Regions from separate parts of the Homo sapiens genome. Here region 1 is linked to region 2. The links are contacts of gene promoters, found by promoter capture Hi-C in human tissues and cell types (Jung and others, 2019). All regions are on one chromosome and are shown on one strand. The core of a region is centred on a gene start or on the middle of the fragment in contact, and the rest is flanking DNA. Distances in the headings are between cores, read along the strand shown. Region 1 holds the start of ZNF559 (zinc finger protein 559). Region 2 has its middle 7.6 kb from the start of OR7E24.

Evidence for each region. Contacts are between HindIII fragments. The study calls those that stand out against the background at their distance.
Region 1: a contact is called between the fragment with the promoter of ZNF559 here and a fragment that was not itself captured in region 2, in 6 of the 25 tissues and cell types used here (H1 embryonic stem cells, mesendoderm cells, pancreas and 3 more).

Annotation. Positions count from the first base shown.
Region 1 is chr19:9,319,596-9,325,828 of GRCh38, reverse strand. ZNF559 (zinc finger protein 559) reads right to left here and starts at 1,650. Exons shown (of 7, transcript NM_032497.3): 1 at 1,601-1,650; 2 at 1,049-1,134. It overlaps ZNF559-ZNF177 (ZNF559-ZNF177 readthrough), which reads right to left and starts at 1,650. Exons shown (of 13, transcript NM_001384659.1): 1 at 1,601-1,650; 2 at 1,049-1,134. RefSeq lists a silencer at 1,247-1,386 and an enhancer at 1,557-1,806. The HindIII fragment of the contact is 8,356 bases long and covers 1-4,801 here.
Region 2 is chr19:9,240,322-9,246,372 of GRCh38, reverse strand. It overlaps a transcript of OR7E24 not described here. Among named protein-coding and RNA genes, the nearest start is that of OR7E24, 7.6 kb to the left of the region's middle. The HindIII fragment of the contact is 9,125 bases long and covers 1-6,051 here.

The DNA of each region.
Region 1 (6,233 bases), core at 401-2,900, 82 kb before region 2:
AGTGAATGTAGTTAAGGGTTAAAGACTTTTTTTTTTTTTTTTGGAGACGGAGTCTCGCACTGTTGCCCAGGCTGGAATGCAAGGGTGCAATCTTGGCTCACTGCAACCTCTGCCTCCCAGGTTCAAGCGATTCTCCTGCCTCAGGCTCCTGAGTAGCTGGGATTACAGGTGCCCACGCCCGGCTAATTTTTTGTATTTTGAGTAAAGACGGGGTTTCACTATGTTGGCCAGGCTGGTCTCAAACTCCTGACCTCGTGATCCGCCAGCCTCAGCCTCCCAACATGCTGGGATTACAGGCGTGAGCCACCACACCTGGACTAAAGACATTTGTTTTACTCGAGCTACAGATGTTCTCTAGATCAGTATTTGTTTTTTTTTCTTCTTTTTGAAACAGGGTCTCACTCTGTTGCCTAAGCTGGAATGCAGTGACACAATAATGGCTCACAGCAGCCTCGACCTCCCATGCTCAAGTGATCCTCGCATCTCGGCCTCCAAAGTGGATGGGACCACAGACACCACCATGCCCAGCTAATTTTTTATTTTTAGTAGAGACAGAGGCTTGCCCTATTTTTTCCAGGTTGGCATCAAATTCCTGGGCTCAAGCGATCCTCCAGCCTCAGCCTCCCAAAACGCTGGGATTACAGGTGTGAGCCACCTTGCCCCGCCCTCAGTAAGACTTTCAAATGAGTAACTGGTAGAAAACCCACCTGTCAAAAGTTATCTTCGCATTCATTATCAATTCAATCCCTCCTGCTAGTAAATCAGCCCGCACCGTGTTCCTGGGGATGCCCTCGTTTTGAACCTCTGGGGGAATCTACAGGGCGCTAGAGTGAGATCTAGGTGATGGCCTGGAACCACAGTTGAGTAGTCCTGTGTTTTTCCTTGGTGGTAAATTTTACAGTTATGTGCATTCATCCACTCATGCATTCGATGGTATCAGATCCATGTGCTCTCGAACAACCACCTGAAAAGGTTTCTTTCCACCTCGACACAACTTAAACTTCAAGACCCGACACCCACAGCCAGAACAAGTGCATGAAGTGCTCACCGGGACACGACAGAATTGTCAGGTTGCTGAGGCCAGGAGGACACCAAGCGAAGGTCACCGTGAACAGGAAGGCAGAGATGCTGTTCCTTATAGAGAAAAGGCACAACGCTGGATGTGGAGACTTTTTTTTTTTTTTCCATTAGAGATGGTTGGGGGGGGGGGTCTCCCTATGTTGCCCTGCCTGGTCTTGAACTCCTGGCCTCAAGTAATCCTCCTACCCAATCCGCCCAAAGCGCTGGGAATGACAGGCGTGAGCCGCCGCGCCGGGCCCTATGAGGCTTCTGCAGAGGGGAGCAGGGAAAATGGAAAGGCCGTGCCCCCCGCCTCCTCCCGGGCCGAGGCCCCAGCGCAGCCGCCTCGACCCCTGAGGACAGACCTGACTGTGGCTCTCAGAGGAGGGGCCGCGACTTGGGAGAGCCCACAAGATGCTCGAAATGCCCGAAAGTGCACGGGACAGGCTCCATTTCACTGGGCACCTCCCCTTTCCACCCTTCTACTCTCGCGTGGCTGCACCGGGACACCACCGAACGCCGCCCAGAAACAAAAACTTACCTCAGACGCCAACGGGAACGCGCTGTTAAGATGGCGGCCGTTATGCGCATGCGCCCACGCAGACACGCCGCGCACGCGCAAAGGCTAGGACCACCTAGGGGGCGGGGCCTCGGGTTCCCGGGCCCATCAGCTGCTGCGGCTTTTTCCAACCCAGAGCTGAGAGGAAATGCTGTTTACCTCCCCGAAGAGCGCAAGTGTCACCGGTAGGGGGTCTTGACTGCAAGCTGTCCAGGTTACTGGCGTTTTGAACAAAGAATTAGACAAAACGCCCAGCAAAGCAAAGAAAGAATGAAGCAACAAAAGAACAAGAGCTGGGATTTGTTGAAAACGAAAGCATACTCCACAGTGTGGGAACTGGCCAAGCGGCAGCTCAAGGGCTCCGAAACAGAACCTTCATGAGTCCCAATACCTCCTAGAATTTTCCCATTGGCCACTTCATGCTCACCTCCTGTAAATGAAGCGGTAGCCCGCGTTCAGTCTGATTGGTTGCAGAAAGCAGCCAACCAGAGTCTGAAGTTACAAAGGTCACACTCCTGTGCAAACATCTGATTGGTTGCAAAAAGCAACCAATCAAAGGCTAGGGTGAAGTTACGACGTTACAAAGTTACACTTCTATGCAAATGAAGACTCAACCGGCCATCAGTCTGATTTGTTGCAGACAGCCAATTTCCTATCTGCCAGCAGAAAAGGTCAAAGGGAGTAGCCTCTGGTCCTTTTGTTATTTAGGCGAGGAAAGTGAGGGTTTTCCTTTCAATTTAGTTCTAGGAAGTCGGCCTGAAACAGCCTTAAGTTCCCTGCCTCCCGACTCTATTCAGCCTCACAAGGGCTTGATTTTTGGTCATCTCACACTCAGAGACTAGAATGCTCCTATTGGAATTTGTTCAAAAATTAGCACATAGAGGCTGGGCCTGATGGCTCACGCCAGTGATCCCAGCACTTTGGGAGGCTGAGGCAGGCAGACCACTTGAGCTCAGGAGTTCGAGACCAGCCTGGGCAATATGGCAAAACCCTATTCCTATAAAAAAGACAAAAAACACAAAAATTAGGACGTAGTTAAGAGCATAGATAAGATTCATGCGGACTTCCTAAAAGTGAAAACACCAAGATCTGGGGTCGGGGAATCTAAGGCCAATTCGTGATAATTTCCTAAAGTTAAATCAAAGGAAAAACACCTGGGGCTGGGGGCAGGGCACCTAAGGCCAATTAACACAAACTTCCTGAAGCTAAACCAAAAGGAAAAACCCCATCTCCCCAAGATCAAAGACTACTCTCTCTACAGTAAAAAGTAAAGTAGAGGTTCCTCTTCAAAGACTTTCCTGCCCATCTAATTAGGAATAAATAGTAACTTCTGTTAGAAGCAAAATTTATTCAAAGACCTGTACTAATGTGTCCGGAATTGGTGGGTTCTTGGTCTCACCGACTCCAAGAATGAAGCCGGGGACCCTCGTGGTGAGTGTTACAGATCTTAAGGTGGCACGTCTGGAGTTTGTTCCTTCTGATGTTCGGATGTGCTCGGAGTTTCTTCCTTCTGGTGGGTTCGTGGTCTTGCTGGCTCAGGAGTGAAGCTGCAGACCTTCGCGGTGAGTGTTAGAGCTCTTAAAGCGGCGCGTCTGGAGTTGTTCATTTCTCCCGGTGGGCTCGTGGTCTCGCTGGCTTCAGGAGTGAAGCTGCAGACCTTCGCGGTGAGTGTTACAGCTCATAAAAGCAGTGTGGACCCAAAGAGTGAGCAGTAGCAAGAGTTATTGCAAAGAGTGAAACAACAAAGCTTCCACGGCGTGGAAGGGGATCAAAGCGGGTTACCACTGCTGGCTGGGGCAGCCTGCTTTTATTCTCTTATGTGGCCCCACCCACATCCTGCTGACTGGTAGAGTCAAGTGGTCTGTTTTGACAGGGCGCTGATTGGTGCCTTTACAATCCCTGAGCTAGACACAAAGGTTCTCCACATCCCCACTAGATTAGCTAGCTACAGAGTGTCGACACAAAGGTTCTCCAAGTCCCCACCAGAGTAGCTAGATACAGAGTGTTGATTGGTGCATTCACAAACCCTGAGCTAGACACAGGGTGCTGATTGGTGTGTTTACAAACCTTGAGCTAGATACAGAGTGCCAATTGGTGTATTTACAATACTTTAGCTAGACATAAAGGTTCTCCAAGTTCCCACTAGACTCAGGAGCCCAGCTGGCTTCACCCAGTGGATCTTGCACTGGGGCTGCAGGTGGAGCTGCCTGCCAGTCCCGCGCCATGCGCCCGCACTCCTCAGCCCTTGGGTGGTCGACGGGATTGGGTGCCGTGGAGCAGGGGGCGGCACTTGTCGGGGAGGCTCCGGCTGCACAGGAGCCCACGGAGGAGGAGGCGGGGGAGGAGGGGGTAGGAGGGGGAAGGAGCGGGGGGTAGGGCAGGGGGAGAGGAGGGTGGGGGTGGGGAGGGGGGTGGGGAGGAGGGTGGGGGGGAGGAGGGCGGGGGGAGGAGGGGAGGAGGAGTGGGGGAGGAGGGTGGCAGGGGGGAGGAGGGCGGGGGGGAGAGGAGGGCGGGGGGGAGGAGGGCGTGGTGGCGGGGAAGGCTCAGGCATGGCAGGCTGCGGGTCCCGAGCCCTGCCCCACGGGAAGGCAGCTAAGGCCTCGCAAGAAATCGAGCTCAGCGCCAGTGGGCTGGCCCTGCTGGGGCACCCAGCACACCCTCCGCAGCCATTGGCCCGGGTGCTAAGACCCTCATTGCCCGGGGCAGGGACGGCTGGCTGCTCCGAGTGCAGGCCTGCCAAGCCCACGCCCACCCGGAACTCCAGCTGGCCCGCAAGCACCGTGCGCAGCCTGGTTCCCGCTAGTGCCTCTCCCTCCACACCTCCGTGAAGCTGGGGGAGCCGGATCCAGCCTTGGCCAGCCCAGAAAGGGGCTCCCACAGTGCAGCGGTGGGCTAAAGGGCTCCTTAAGTGCCGCCAAAGTGGGAGCCCAGGCAGAGGAGGCGCCGAGAGCGAGCGAGGGCTGTGAGGACTGCCAGCACACTGTCACCTCTCACTAACATTCTTAAATATCTGCTAGCTGTAATAAAGAAATCAGTGTACTTTATGTTCTTAGCTCCCACAATTTAGCCTAAATATTTGCCCTGGCATGCTTATACTGGTCCAAGCAAGCATTAGGTCATAGTCTGTTCCTCTTCCTTATCTGAAGGTGTTTTTACCTTTCTCAGCATCCCACAAGTTACTTCCTCCATCCTTTGTTCTCCTCTGCCTTTGCCTCTTTTAAAAAGTCCTAAGTTGCTAGCCAATCAGGACAAATACAGAATGGAAGGTCCTGTTCTAGCCAATGGAAACTGATAAGCCTCCTCTAATCTCCCCCACCCAGAAAGAAACAAGCAAAGAAATCTCCAAGGTACCACAGCCCCCACCCCCCCCCCGCCGGCTATCGGTTTTGTCCCCTTCAAGCTGTAGGGAGAGGGGAATTTGGCCCAACCCGGGTACATGTCCCCTTCTCCCTCTCTGATTTAAAGCAGATCAAGGTAGACCTGGGGAAGTTTTCAGATGATCCTTATAGGTATATAGATGTCCTACAGGGTCTAGGGCAAACCTTCAACCTCACTTGGAGAGATGTCATGCTATTGTTAGATCAAACACTGGCCTTTAATGAAAAGAATGCGGCTTTAGCTGCAGCCTGAGAGTTTGGAGATACCTGGTATCTTAGTCAAGTAAATGATAGAATGACAGCTGAAGAAAGGGACAAATTCCCTATGGGTCAGCAAGCCATCCCCAGTATGGATCCCCACTGGGACCTCGACTCAGATCATGGGGACTGGAGTTGCAAACATCTGTTGACCTGTGTTCTAGAAGGACTATGGAGAATTAGAAAAAAGCCCATGAATCATTCAATGAAGTCCACCATAACTCAGGGAAAGGAAGAAAATCCTACCACCTTCCTTGAGTGACTATGGGAGACCTTAAGAAAATATACTCTCCTGTCACCTGACTCTCTCGAGGGTCAATTGATCCTCAAAGATAAGTTTATTACCAAATCAGCCGCAGATATCAGGAGAAAGCTCCAAAAGCTAGCCCTGGCCCTGAACAAAATTTGGAGGCATTATTAAACCTGGCAACCTTGGTGTTCTATAATAGGGACCAAGAGGAACAGGCCAAAAAGGAAAAGCGAGATAAGAGAAAGGCCGCAGACTTAGTCATGGCCCTCAGACAAACAAACCTTGGTGGTTCAGAGAGGACAGAAAATGGAGCAGGCCAATCACCCAGTAGGGCTTGTTATCAGTGTGGTTTGCAAGGACACTTTTTTTTTTATTATACTTTAAGTTTTAGGGTACATGTGCACAACGTGAAGGTTTGTTACATATGTATACATGTGCAATGTTGGTGTGCTGCACCCATTAACTCATCATTTAACATTAGGTGTATCTCCTAATGCTATCCCTCCCCCTCCCCCCACCACACAACAGGCCCCCGTGTGTGATGTTCCCCTTCCTGTGTCCATGTGTTCTCATTGTTCAATTCCCACCTATGAGTGAGAACACGCGGTGTTTGGTTTTTTTTTCTGCAGGGACACTTTAAAAAAGATTGTCCAATGAGAAACAAGCCGCCCCCTCACCCATGTCCACTATGCCAAGGCAATCACTGGCAGGCACACTGCCCCAGAGGACA
Region 2 (6,051 bases), core at 2,874-5,373:
ATTGAGGCCCGGCGCGGTGGCTCATGCCTGTAATCCCAGCACTTTGGGAGGCCAAGGCAGGCAGATCACGAGGTCAGGAGATCGAGACCATCCTGGCTAACACGGTGAAACCCTGTCTCTACTAAAAATACAAAAATTAGAAGGGTGTGGTGGCCCGTGCCTGTAATCCCAGCTACTTGGGAGACTGAAGCGGAAGAATCGCTTGAACCTGGGAGGCGGAGGTTGCAGTGAGCTGAGATCGCGCCACTGCACTCCAGCCTGGGAGACAGAGCAAGACTCCATAAAAAAAAAAAAAAAAAAAAAAAAAAAAAAGCACATTGATATAATAAGCAAATTGCAACGGGAAGTCGCCGAAGCGAAAAAAAAATATATATATACACACTCACCAGACTATGAAGGATTCACCAGCAACAGTCTGGGCTCCAGAGTCAGCCACCAGTCCGTGCACAGACAAGGAGAGGTCTCCTGAAGCTTTGGCGCAGTCTGGGACCCTAACTCTTTTTGTAATGAGTTGTTTGGCATGAGGCCCAGTCACGAGGGCCCTTCACGACTGGGCCCAAGGAACGCAAAAAGGTCAACTCGTTTTCGTGATTGTCTATTGTTTTTCAATAACTAATGTATAGGAATAGATTGAAATAGAGATTTCTCCGAAACAGCGCTGGATGAACGCCTCAAGGGGCTCACACGACCCATTCGAGGACTTGCTGACCATTGTTTGTGTCCATGTTCAATTGAGTTCGAATTTAATATTTAACTTTTCCTCCACACATGGTTATACAAATATCTGTTCAAATCCCTGTTTTCGATCCTTTTAAGTATGCACCCAGAAGTGAACTTGCAGCATCCTATGGTAGTTCTATTTTTCATTTTATGAGGAACCATCATATGGATTTTCATACTGCTGCACCATTTTACATTTCCATAGCCCTGTGTAAGCATTCCTCCTTCCCTACAGTTTCACCAAAACTCGACAGGTTTTTTTGCTTGTTTGTTCTTAATAGCCATCCTATTGGGTGGTATCTCATTGTGATTTTTATTTGCATGCCCCTATTGATGAGTGATGCTGGGTATCATTTTGTATGCTCATTGGCCATTTGCATATGTTCTTTAGAGAAATGTCTATTCAAGTCCTCTGCCCAATTTTTTTTTTTCTTTATTGAGACGGAGTCTTGCTCTGTCACCCAGGCTGGAATGCAGTGGCATGATCTTGGCTCACTGCAAACTTCACCACCCGGGTTCAAGCGATTCTCGTGACTCAGCCTCCTGAGTAGCTGGGACTATAGGTGCAGGCCACCCGCCCGCTAATTTTTTTTGTATTTTTTTGTATTTTTACTAGAAACGGAGTTTCACCATGTTGGCCAGGCTGGTCTTGAACTCCTGACCTCAGGTGATCTGCCCGCCTTGGCCTCCCAGAGTGCTGGGATTATAGGTGTAAGCCACCACACCTGGCCTTCTGCCCATTTTTAATGGGCATTTGTTTGGTTGCTGAGTTGTAGGAGTTCTTAATATTGTTTGGTTGTTAGCCTCTAAGCATATATATATGATTTACAGATATATTTTCCTATTCCCTGGGTTAACTTTTGACTCTGATGATAGTATATCCTTTGAGTTACAAAGGTTTTTTAATTTTGATGTAGTCCAAGTTATCTATATATTGTTGTCTGTGCTTTTGGTGACATATTCAAGAAATCACTAAGAAATCCAGTGTCATGAAGGTATTGATCAAATCATTACCAAATCCAATGTCATGAAGGTATTGATCAATGTTTTCTTTAAGAATTTTATAGGTTTGGAATTTAGGTTTAGGCCTTTGATCCATTTTGTGTTAACTTTTGCATATGGTGTAAGGTAAGAACCCACCTTCATTCTTCTGCATTTTGAAATCAAGTTTTTCCTACACCGTTTGTTGAAAAGGCTGTCTTTTTCCCAATGAATGTTCTTGGCACCCATGTGGAAAATCATGTGACCATATAAGTGAGAGTTTCTTTCTGGGCTCTCTTTACTCTTCCATTTTTCTGTATATGTGTCTTTATGTATTATAGTACCACACTGTTTTAATTCCTGGATCTTTGTAGTTTATTTGGAAACCAGGAAATGTGAGACCTTCAACTTTTCTTTTTAATGGATTTATACATTTTTTCAATTTACCTTAGAATTGTACATTGAGTTGGATAATAGTAACAAAACCTGCTAGGCTTTGGAGAGTGGATTCCCAAGGTTTTTCAAATACACTGTCTCATTGGAGCCTTAGTACTCCTGATCAAATAAAGACAGACAGATTTTTTATTTTGCCAGTGAGAATCACAGTCTGGAGAGGCTGTTGAATCCCAACACAGTGGTCACTGATGGGTCTGATACTGGAATTGGGTCTGTGTCCACCAGGCTGTGGGGCCTTTTCCAGAAACCAGGCTCCTGCACAGGGACTGGGGCTGAAGGAGGGACTCTCCCGGGAGGAGGCAGCCTGGTGAGAAGGATGCCAGCAGAAGTCTCAGGCCTCTAAGGCCTCCCCTCCTTCCCTGGTCTCTGCAGCTGAAGTTGCATCAGGAAGCTGTATCTTCTAACTGCTTGAGGCAACTTCTCAGATAAACCCTCTGAGGTGAATCCATAAACTTTTACAACTTGCACTTTCAAAGGATGATGCAAGGAGCAACAATTGCACCAGCTTGAGCCATTTGAGGGTGGTGTGGAATTGGAAACTGTGTCAAAGGCAATGGAACCCTGCCTCTAGCATCAGAAAGCTAAGCCTGTATTCAAAATAGATGCCTGCCAGGTGCAGTGGTTCACACCTACAATCCCAGTGCTTCAGGAAGCCAAGGTGGCCAATCCTGGTTTGAGGCCAGGATTTCAAGACAAGCCTGAGTCACATAGAGAGACCCCCTAACTGGGTGTGATGATGCATGCCTGTAGTCCCAGCTACTTGGGAGACTGAGGAGGATCACTTGAGCCCAGGAGTTCAAGATTTCAGTGAGCCACTGTACTCCAGCCTGCACAATACTGTGAGACACTGGCTCAAAAAAAAAAAAAAAAATGCCAGAGCAACATAAAATTGTAAGCATTCATTACCTTTCTGCCACCATGCATTGGGGAAAGTGGATCCCTCAGCTGATGCTGACCATTGGCAGACAGGATGGTGTGTGTGGAGATGGCGGGAGGGTCTTAGGGATGTGGGATGAACCCTGACACCATCTACTACCCCATCCTTCACTGCAGACCCAGTTCTACCAGTTCTCATCAAAAGGGTGAACTGCATCCCAAACACAGTCCACATTCTGTGGCTTCCATTCCTGAAGACATCTCCAGAAAGTCTCAGAAGAAAATTAAACTATATGAGAGAACAAATCTTTTCTATCGTATAATTATTACATGTTCTACAATCTGGGGTTAGATCATAAAACTGCAATTATGGGAAATAAAGGTCAAATAAAGAAGGAAAGAAAGAAAGACAAGAAGGAAGGAGGGAATGAGAGAAGAAAGAGGAGGGAATGAGGGAAGAAAGAGGAGGGAATGAGGGAAGAAAGAAGAGGAAAGGAAGAAAGTAAAAAAGGAGGGAGGGAGGGAAGAAAAGGAATAATCACAAAGAAGGAAGCAACGTCTCAGTTATTCTAGGCAGTTCATTACTATGAATCATCAGAACAAACAAGCTTACAAATCTACATTCCTAATTTGATGTGAAAAATCACATCACTGTTCTTATGAAATAAAGGATAGCAAAGTTGGAGTGTGGTCTCAACGTCAAGTTGCCAGGTTATAGTTCACCTCTATCTGCTTCTTCCTTTGTGGAACAAGGTGAATGAGAAAAGACATGTCAAAGAAATGTTTTCAGGGCCAACTGTGGTGGCTCATGCCTATAATCCCAGCACTTTGGGAGGCCGAGGCAGGTGGATCACTTGAGGTCAGGAGTTTGAGATCAGCCTGGCCAACATGGCAAAACCCCATCTCTACTAAAAATACAAAAAAAATTAGCCAGGTGTGGTGGTGCACACTTATAATTCCAGCTACTTGGGAGGCTGAGACACAAGAATTGCTTGAACCCGGGAGGTGGTTGCCGTGGGCTGAGATAGCGCCATGGCACTCCAGCCTGGGTGACAGAGTGAAACTGTGTCTCAAAACAAAACAAAACAAAAACAAAAAGAAAGAAATGTTTTCAGGATTAAATAAAGCCATACATGTAAAGCAACAAGCACAATCCTAAAAGGGAAACACGTTGCCTTGACTATTGTATGATTTTCATCCAATTTCTTCCAGAGGAAACAAGAACACAACCAAGTTTAGGTGAAGGGTGCTAACATGCAAATGGGTAATTTTTGAGGAAAGCATGTCATCATATCAGCACTCGATATGATAAGTGTTTCAAACAACACGTGAGAACTCTCAAGAGTGGCTCTAAGAAAATGGACCAAAGATGGAACTTTAAAGACTGTATATAAAACGGAAAAGTTAGAAGGAAATTACCAAGGGAGTTACTGAGAGAACCTAAAGTAAAAACATGTAGCAAAAGCCAAATCACAAGTGTTTTGGGAAGAGTAAAAATGAAGCATGTGATTTTCAGGAGAAAAAGAGCCAGGATATTTATTTCTTGTTTTCTTTTAGTTTTGTAGTTGTTGTTTTTGAGACAAAGTCTCACTCTGTCGCCCAGGCTGGAATGCAATGGCGCAATCTCAGCTCACTGCAACCTCTACCTCCCAGATTCAAGCAATTCTCCTGCCTCAGTCTCCCAAGTAGCTGAGATTACAGGCACCCACCACCACACCCAGCTAATTTTGCATTTTTAGCAGAGATGGGGTTTCACCACATTGGCCAGGCTGGTCTTGAACTCGTGACCTCAAGTGATCCACCCACCTCAGCCCCCAAAGTGCTGGGATTACAAGCATGAGCCACCAAGCCTGGTCGAGCCGGGATATTTAAATTCACATTTGCCTAATGGACCTACAACATCCACTTAGTTCTGAGACCTTGATCTGTCATGGACAAGAGGCTGGTCTGCTGAGGAACTGAATGTTCATGAGCAGGGCTCTGTCAAACATAATCTTGCCTTTGTGACCTTTTTATAAACCCAATGATCTCTCTGACAACCACCACTTAGACAGATTGAACCCTAGGCTAACACATTCTGCTGCCAAGTGGATGTTATTAATAAGGTGTTTCACAGCACAACAAACTAAACCCTTCCAAGAACAAACTCGATGCAAAGGAAAGTAGATTGAACCCTACTTTCTGCCATGTACAAAAATCAAATCAAATAAAAAACAGATCAACAGGCCTGGCGCAATGGCTCATGCCTGTAATCCCAGCATTTGGGTGGCCGAGGCGGGTGGATCACTTGAGGTCAGGAGTTCAAGACCGGCCTGACTAACATGTGAAACCCCATCTCCATCAAAAATACAAAAATTAGCCAGGCGTGGTGGCGGGCACCTGTAATCCCAGCTACCTGGGAGGCTGAGGCAGGAGAATCACTTGAACCCGGGAGGCAGAGGTTGCAGAGAGCCGAGATCACACCTCTGCACTCCAGCCTGGGTGACAGAGAGAGACTGTGTCTCAAAATAAATAAATAAATAAAAAGTCAATAGCTTAAATATAATGTAGCTAAAATCATAAAACTCTTAGAAAAAAACATACAGGAATATCTTGATTACACTTTATTTGGAAGCAGATTGTTAGATACAACAGTGAAAGCATGAGTAACAAAACAAAAAAATAGATATATTGAACTTCATCAAATTTTAAAACTTTTCTCTATCAAAATGTTCTGTTAAGAAAATGGAGCATGGTACCAATAGAAACACAGATACAAAGGACAATGGAACAGAAGAGGTGGTGCAGAAATGAATCAATGAATTTATGGCAAATCATTTTTTGACAAAGATGCCGAGAACACACAGTGGGGAAAGGACAGTCTCTTCCATAAATGGTGCTGGGAAAACTGGAAAACCACATGCAGAGGAATGAAATTAGCTCCTCATCTCAGGTCTCAGTAAACCTGAAAATGCAAAACCACTAAAAGAAAACATAGGAATAATCCTCCATGAAATTACACTGGGCAATGATTTTTTG